Regions from separate parts of the Homo sapiens genome. Here region 2 is linked to region 1. The links are contacts of gene promoters, found by promoter capture Hi-C in human tissues and cell types (Jung and others, 2019). All regions are on one chromosome and are shown on one strand. The core of a region is centred on a gene start or on the middle of the fragment in contact, and the rest is flanking DNA. Distances in the headings are between cores, read along the strand shown. Region 1 holds the start of OR51S1 (olfactory receptor family 51 subfamily S member 1). Region 2 holds the start of OR51L1 (olfactory receptor family 51 subfamily L member 1).

Region 1 (4,163 bases), core at 758-3,257:
GCAGTGGAATGAAGCAGCCTTGCCAAAATGCTAGGCAACTGGCTGTTATTTTCCAAAGTTCAGTCGTTTCAATAAACAAGCTTATATCTCTAATGGATTTCCAGGGTGTCAAAATGGATCTTATTGACAGCTTGCCAGCTTTATACATGCTTTGTAGGGGAGAGGATGTGTTAGCCTCCTCACTCCATCACACTGGAAATGAATGTCTGTTTCTATTTATTGCTTTTTAAAAGTCTGTGGGATTAAGGGTTTTGTTGCATTTATCTTCCTTTTTTAGCTTGAAAGTTATATTTTATTAAAAAATTTAACATAATATTTTATAACATATGTATTTGGAATTTTTGTAATAAATGTTTAGGGTTAGCCTCCTCACTCCATCACACTGGAAATGAATGTCTGTTTCTATTTATTGCTTTTTAAAAGTCTGTGGGATTAAGGTTTTTGTTGCATTTATCTTCCTTTTTTAGCTTGAAAGTTATATTTTATTTAAAATTTTAACATAATATTTTATAACATATGTATTTGGAATTTTTGTAATAAATGTTTAGGGTTAACTTGTATCTATATCATTATCCTGAAAACAAAACCTAGCAAGTTTTTTTATTTTACTTTTCTTTAGATCCCAATTTTCGTGGTCTTTTTGTCCAGAATTTCAGTTCCAATCTTTCTGGGCATTTGGGCAGGGAAGAAAATATGACTATGGTGTGTGTCCAGTCCTTCTTGTTAAAATTATAAATAATATTTGGATATTACATGTGAGGAGAAGCTAATTCTCAGGTTTTTATTTTGGGAAATTGATTAATGGTGGCACCAACAACTGACTTAGGGAACAAACGAGTGTCTTATTGGTTTTGCTATTGACATAAATTCCTCTTCACTGTTTCCTAACTGATGACTCTGAAAGAGGCATTAAGATGTGTCTGTTAAGATCTGCTTTGGATTATTTGAATTTAAATTGCCTGGAACATCCAAGGTAAGATGAACCTAGAAGGATCTGGGAATATATATTAGTAATTCATCTGTTTGTAGACTCGAGTTGATGTCATGAGAGTAGATAAGACCACTTAGGAAAATAAAGAGGGCCAAGGAAAAATATCTCAAAAATATAAACATACACTTAGATAGAAGAAATAAGTTATAATGTTCAGTAGCCAAGTAGGGTGACTATAGTTAACAACAATGTATTGTATATTTCAAAATAGCTAGTAGACAGAACTTGAAATGTTCCAACATATAAAAATTATAATTACTCAAGGCGATGGATGTCCTAAATACCCTGACTTTATCATTTCACATTCTATGCATGTAACAAAATACCACATGCACCCCTTTAAATATGTGCAATTATTACATTTCAATAAAATAAAAATTTTAAATACCCATGTATAAATCATAGGGACACAGCAAAGTTAAGTAAAAGGCTAAATTCTGAAAGGGAGAATTTTTAAAAAAGTAAAAAATAGATCCATAGTAGCCAAAGCTCATTAAGAAATAAATCAAGCTTAGAAAAAATGAGTGCCCCTTAATTTAGAAATAAAGGAGTAATTGGGGACTTAATAAGAACAGTTAAAGTGCACCAAAATGTAAGTATCTTAAGGCAGTCTAGAAGTCAGACTGTCTGGGGTTGGGAAGAGAAAAAAATATGGATAAATGGACTGTTTCCTAAAGTGTTTGTCATAAAGGGAGGGAAAAAATAGGATAACACTACAGGGAGAGGCAAGCTAAAAAAACATGTGAAAACAATCTAGGAAAAGAAACAGAACCACAGAGCTATGAGGACAGCTATAGAAAAACCTCAAAGGCAAGGAATGAATGCTGCATATACTATTAGGATGGGTGCGTGCACAGGGAGGAAATGTGTATATGTGTACGTGTATGTGAGTGCATGAGTCAGGGAAGGGAAGATGCAGGCTATTTTGGAACGTTTCATGCAAATTTGGCACGCGATTAAGTAAACCTTTCTAATCATTTTTCAGGTTCCAGAGTTCAACGTGGAATCCTGAACTATGTCAACATTACCAACTCAGATAGCCCCCAATAGCAGCACTTCAATGGCCCCCACCTTCTTGCTGGTGGGCATGCCAGGCCTATCAGGTGCACCCTCCTGGTGGACATTGCCCCTCATTGCTGTCTACCTTCTCTCTGCACTGGGAAATGGCACCATCCTCTGGATCATTGCCCTGCAGCCCGCCCTGCACCGCCCAATGCACTTCTTCCTCTTCTTGCTTAGTGTGTCTGATATTGGATTGGTCACTGCCCTGATGCCCACACTGCTGGGCATCGCCCTTGCTGGTGCTCACACTGTCCCTGCCTCAGCCTGCCTTCTACAGATGGTTTTTATCCATGTCTTTTCTGTCATGGAGTCCTCTGTCTTGCTCGCCATGTCCATTGATCGGGCACTGGCCATCTGCCGACCTCTCCACTACCCAGCGCTCCTCACCAATGGTGTAATTAGCAAAATCAGCCTGGCCATTTCTTTTCGATGCCTGGGTCTCCATCTGCCCCTGCCATTCCTGCTGGCCTACATGCCCTACTGCCTCCCACAGGTCCTAACCCATTCTTATTGCTTGCATCCAGATGTGGCTCGTTTGGCCTGCCCAGAAGCTTGGGGTGCAGCCTACAGCCTATTTGTGGTTCTTTCAGCCATGGGTTTGGACCCCCTGCTTATTTTCTTCTCCTATGGCCTGATTGGCAAGGTGTTGCAAGGTGTGGAGTCCAGAGAGGATCGCTGGAAGGCTGGTCAAACCTGTGCTGCCCACCTCTCTGCAGTGCTCCTCTTCTATATCCCTATGATCCTCCTGGCACTGATTAACCATCCTGAGCTGCCAATCACTCAGCATACCCATACTCTTCTATCCTATGTCCATTTCCTTCTTCCTCCATTGATAAACCCTATTCTCTATAGTGTCAAGATGAAGGAGATTAGAAAGAGAATACTCAACAGGTTGCAGCCCAGGAAGGTGGGTGGTGCTCAGTGAGTAGGATGTCCCTCCGTGTTTGGTGGTACAGGGCTCCTGATACTAAAGTTTCTGTGAGAACTCAGCTCACCAAGCATGAAATGATCATTCACGTACACATAAGTGCATATATGTGCATGTAGCTTCCTGTCCCTGGAAGTATGCCTGTGTATATTGATGCAAACTTACAAGCCCCAAAGAATGAACATGATCCACCCACTGGTACATTACATATCAATGACATAGGAAGGGCCAGAGTCCAGATCTTGTCACAACTATCCAAGTGTGTGCCTGTTGTTATCTTATTGTTGTTAGTCCTGTCACTATATCTATACCTTAATACTGGATAAAGCTAGAAGAGTTAATCATCTACATAGCAAAGGAAAAATAAGACAGAAGCATTCTTCTCAACTAGATAGAAGATCTTCCATTTGTATTGTACCTCCTTAAGAAGTAAGAATTCTGACCAATCCTTAGGAATTAGATACATGAGGAAAATGCAAGTAAGTCTCTCATTTAGATTCTTCACACCAAGAGATAGGTTATTTAACTCTGATCAGGCCAGGAAAAAAAGAGGGAATATAATTTTTTTAATTCTTCATTTAGTTTTCAAAATGTTAGTATATTTTTGAATACATATGTATATTGAATGTCCTCAACACAAAGAAATGAGAAATGTTTGAGATTATAAATATGCTAATCACCCTGATCTGATCACTATACATGGTATGCACCAAAACATCACTATGACTATGCATAATTATTGTCAGTTTAAAATAAAATTTAATTTAATTTTTTAAATTTTTGCATATTTCAGAAAAAATAGAACAAATAAGAATAATCTTAAATTACATCCCCCAAACTTAACTATAATTATCTGTTTAGTGAACACTTATAATGTTTTATGTAAATGGAATCTTACAAGTGGCATTTGGAATTATCGGTCTCAATTCTTTACTTCCTAGTAGCAGCAGTATACATTCACATCCACATCAGGAGGGACAAAGTGGACGGATTGTATTTACATTCACTCTCACTTTAGACACATAATTTTCTCTGGCCATTGTGGTCCTCATGACTTGTTTTGGTCAATAGGATGTTAGTGGATGTGATAAAAGCAAGAGCTTCAGTGTGATTTTGCTGCAGGGTTTGATTTCTTGTACTGGGGTAGTGCTAACCTAGTAGGTAATTCCCCTTGAATCTGGT
Region 2 (4,163 bases), core at 419-2,918, 150 kb before region 1:
GATCACTACTCTTTAGAATTCTCTTTCTCCCTGCTTTATGTGCAAGTCCCCTATGTGCAGATTGCGATGTTTAGAAAACTTCAGTTGTAGACTGGCCAATAGATTTGAGGTTAGGACAGGCAGGAATATTTCTGTTTGTAATCCCTATTAATTTTTAACTGTGTATATTTAAGGTATACAGAATGATGTTTATATATATATATGCATATACATAGACATATACATAGTGAAATGGTCATTACTATGTGCCTGTGTGTGTGTGTGTGCATGCACACACGTGCATGTGTATGCTAAGAACACCTAAGCTCTACTCTCTTGGCAAATTTTCGGTATACAATTTCTGTGGTTTTAATTCTTGCTCATATTGGTTTATCCCTCACTTAAAAAGAGTCCCCATTTCTACAATATTATTAACTCACTGCTTTATCTCATTGATTTATCCCTCACCTGAAAAGAGTTCCCATTCTACAATATTATGAACTGTGGTCATGCTGTATATTAGATCTCTAGACTTATTCTTCCTACATAACTGCAAGTTTGTATGCTTTGAGCTACTTTTCCGCATTTCCTCCACTACCCGGGCCCCCTAAGCCCCTTTCCCGTTTCTATTTCTGTGTGTACTTTCCCTTTCTTATCCTCTCACTGCCATATCTGTCATGTCTTTCACTTTTTAAAATCCATTTATTGTCTTTTCTCTATTCATTTTCTTTTGACTCTATTTCTGGGTCACTGACAATGATTCTTTGTGGTTCTTTGTTGATTTTAGTACAACTTAATCACACTGAGGTCGAAAGAGAAATAATAGAAAAGAACTGGGAGTAATAACAAGACTGTTTCAAAGGGCAGAGGCATGAATAGGCTTATGTCACACATTCACCTATTCCAGGTAATTAAGGGAGAACTACTGAACATAAGACCATTTTTTTACAGCCTCTCTAGTATCAAAACCTATTCTCTGCTAATCAGCTTATCGCTTATCTTAAAATCGCTGAAAATAATTGGAACAAGACATTACAATACTGTAATAAATTTAATTTTTTTCACAGATGAGAATAATTCTTTTTCCTTTTGCATAAATGGTACATCATCTTTCTCATAATTTTACTCTCTTTAGCAAACTATATCCACATACAAAATGTGCTAAAATCTACCAACTATTTATAATTTAAAAATTCACACTTACCTGAAATTTAAATATAAGGCAATTGAATCAATATGCCTAGTTAATTTGCAATCAGTAGCCCATTTCTCAAATGATCCACAGTTCCATTTTGTCTTTCTCTGACTAAACTTTTCTTCACTATAGTTAAAGTCATATTTTCTTTCTGTTCCTATGTCTGTGGCTTTTTCTCTCTTTATCTCATTTTATGTGTCAAATTATCTTTACTATCTTTTCTAGCCTCCTTCCTGCTGCCATTTTTTTATATTTTGTTTTTATCTAAGTTTGTGTCTTTTCAGCATGTAATCCTCTATTTTTTCCGGTCCCTTTGATTGGCTGTTTCTTTCTTCTAATTTCTCTTTGTGTGTCTGTGGTTTAAGTTGCTGCTCTTACGGGCTTATCTCTCACCTGAGAAAACTTCCCATCTCTACCTGAAAATCAAACCTGTACTGATTAAAGATGCTACAATTTTAAGTCTCTATGAACCTCAGGTTTTGAAAACCTTCGACTCTGTGAGTGGTGAGGCTTGAAGGCTTCCACCATCTCTATAAATACTCCTGGTGTCTCCTGGCAAAGAAAATTAGGGATTGGTGTCAGAGTCTGTTGGATCCCCAGAGATGAAATGGCCATAAAAAGCCCTTAACCACAGGTATGGCAAGAGCATATGATCATAATACTGAAAATAGTAGAAATGCATCCCTGTTTTCATCCACCATTCTTAGTTCTCTAATAGTTTTCTCAAATGAGTGTAAGAAAGTAAATTTATGATAACTACTGTGATCCAGAAGAATACTGAAATTTCGGCTTTAACTAGGGGCATTGTACAGAACAATGATGAGAAAGTGCAATGATAAGTCTTTCCATTATAAGATGTTTACCACATTTCACTAAACAGAGTTATTTATTAGTCATGTGCTTCATAAGCATTTATTAAGCAACAGGGTTCAAGAAGGCACACTAAGCACTTTAAAGGCAAACGCTACTATCCAGTTCATTGCTGCTTCCTCAGTGCTTGGTAAGAAGCATCATCTCCCAACACATTTTTTTTCTTTGCATATTGGCTATCCTACCTCTTTGCATTTATTAATAAATTTTAGAAACAGGTTATCCATTTCTACCAAGATATACATTGAGACTACTATTGAGAATGTATTGAATCTGTAGATCGATTTGGGGAGAATTTACATGTTTAGAATGTAAGATAACTAATCCAAGAACAGGAACTTCAATTAATTAAGGTCTTTATTTTTTCTCAATATTATTTTATACTTGTCTGTTTGGAGATTACATATTTTACACTAGGTTTATTCTCACATATTTGGCATTCAATTGTGCTAACGTAAGTAGCATGATTAATTTTTTCTAAATATTTGGGACTGTTACATAAAAATAAAGTTAATTTTTCTTTTTTCAGAAAAGCTGAACTTATTTTTTATTTTTAATAAGTGATCTGTATTCTCTAAGGCCTTATTTTGCACCAAATCACACCTCCACAAGTAATGTCAGCTTCTTTTTCTCTTATTTAAAATCTTCATTATCGTTTTCTATATTTATTGCTTTGTTGCATTGGATAAGATCTCCAGTGCATTTTGGGGAGAAGGGATAAAAATTGTTTTCTTTTCTTTTTGCAGATATCACAGGTGTGGTTAACAACATTTTACCATTAAGTATGTTTGCTAAGATTTTTTGTACCTGCTTTTATCCGAGAATGTTGTCATCTTCTATTGTTCATGTGATAAGGGATTTTGTCAAAAATAGATGCTGAATTTCATAAAATTATTTTGGGTTTATTGAAATTCATGCTTTTATGATACATATTATTTTTCTTTAATATCATGTTAATGTGATTAATTATATTGATTGATTTTCAAATATCAACTTGTCTTTCTGGAATAAACTCAAGTTTGGAATGCCATTTTCTTTTCTTTATTTATTGCCAGATTTGGTTTGCAAATATTTCGTTTAGAATTTTGACATCGATGTTCATCAGTAAGCACGGCCTGAAATTTTCCTTACTGTAATGTCTTTGTCATGTTTTGTTATGAGATTGAGATTACACAAAGCTCTAAAATACCTGAAGAAATATTCTTTCTCTTCTCCCCGGGAAGATTTTGCATATGCTGGTATGTTGTTTTTTAATTAAATGGCCATCCCAGGGTAGTTTTAATTATAGGCTTTCTAGTTAATCCTTACGGACAATTCAGGTTTTCTCTTTGTCAGTTTTAAAACTAGTTGTGGAGAGATGTAATTAAGGATTACATTATCCAACATTTATAGGACCATTTAGATCTTCTATTTATTCTTTTACCAATTTTTATAAATTGTATTTATCTAGGAATACATAGTTTGGATATACATTTTGATATTTATTGGTTATAAGTTATTCTTAAGTACTTTCATAATTTTTCAAGATCTGCAGTAGTCACACGGTATCTGCTTTTCTCATTACTCATGTTGTTTTGATATGCATTTTCTTTTTTATACTACTAGTGTCACAGTAGATTGACAGTTTCATTGGCTTTTCAAATAGTCAACTTCAGAGGTTAGGTTCTCCAGAAGCAAATACAAAGGGAGAGTTTGAGATGCAAAGGACTTGTTAGGAATTGAGTGTTGATTCAGCTGCCCTGAACTTAACTTTGTTTAAGTTACTTGACTTAACCAAAGTTTCATAGCTAATAACTAGATAAGCCATTAAACCAATTGGTCTCCATAACTGGCATATTCAATACAGCATAGAAAATAACATTCCTTAAACTCTACCTGTGTAGGAAAATGCAAAGGTCTATTCCTAATCTTATGCTTTCTTTTCTTGCAGTCCCGTGGCCATCTCTGCCAGAGTTCTCCACTGTTGTGTACACTTCTTTCTTGTTCTGATCACAGTGGTTGAACATAGCAAATGCTGAGACATATCAAATTATGAGGACAAAATATTACTCTTTAAAACAATCTTTATTGTGACTCAGTAGCGTTTTGAGTGTCGGTTCAGCTAACCTGACTAGGTTGC

Evidence for each region. The method cuts DNA at HindIII sites, captures the fragments that hold promoters and counts their contacts. A contact is called where the count stands out against the background at its distance.
Region 2: a contact is called between the fragment with the promoter of OR51L1 here and the fragment with the promoter of OR51S1 in region 1, in 1 of the 25 tissues and cell types used here (aorta).

Annotation. Positions count from the first base shown.
Region 1 is chr11:4,847,052-4,851,214 of GRCh38, reverse strand. OR51S1 (olfactory receptor family 51 subfamily S member 1) reads left to right here and starts at 2,007. Exons shown (of 1, transcript NM_001004758.1): 1 at 2,007-2,978. The coding sequence starts at 2,007. The coding sequence ends at 2,978. All of the region lies in intron 2 of MMP26 (matrix metallopeptidase 26), which reads right to left. The HindIII fragment of the contact is 3,311 bases long and covers 792-4,102 here.
Region 2 is chr11:4,992,356-4,996,518 of GRCh38, reverse strand. OR51L1 (olfactory receptor family 51 subfamily L member 1) reads right to left here and starts at 1,668. Exons shown (of 3, transcript NM_001004755.2): 1 at 1,184-1,668. It overlaps MMP26 (matrix metallopeptidase 26), which reads right to left. Exons shown (of 8, transcript NM_021801.5): 8 at 4,090-4,163. The HindIII fragment of the contact is 11,490 bases long and covers 1-2,410 here.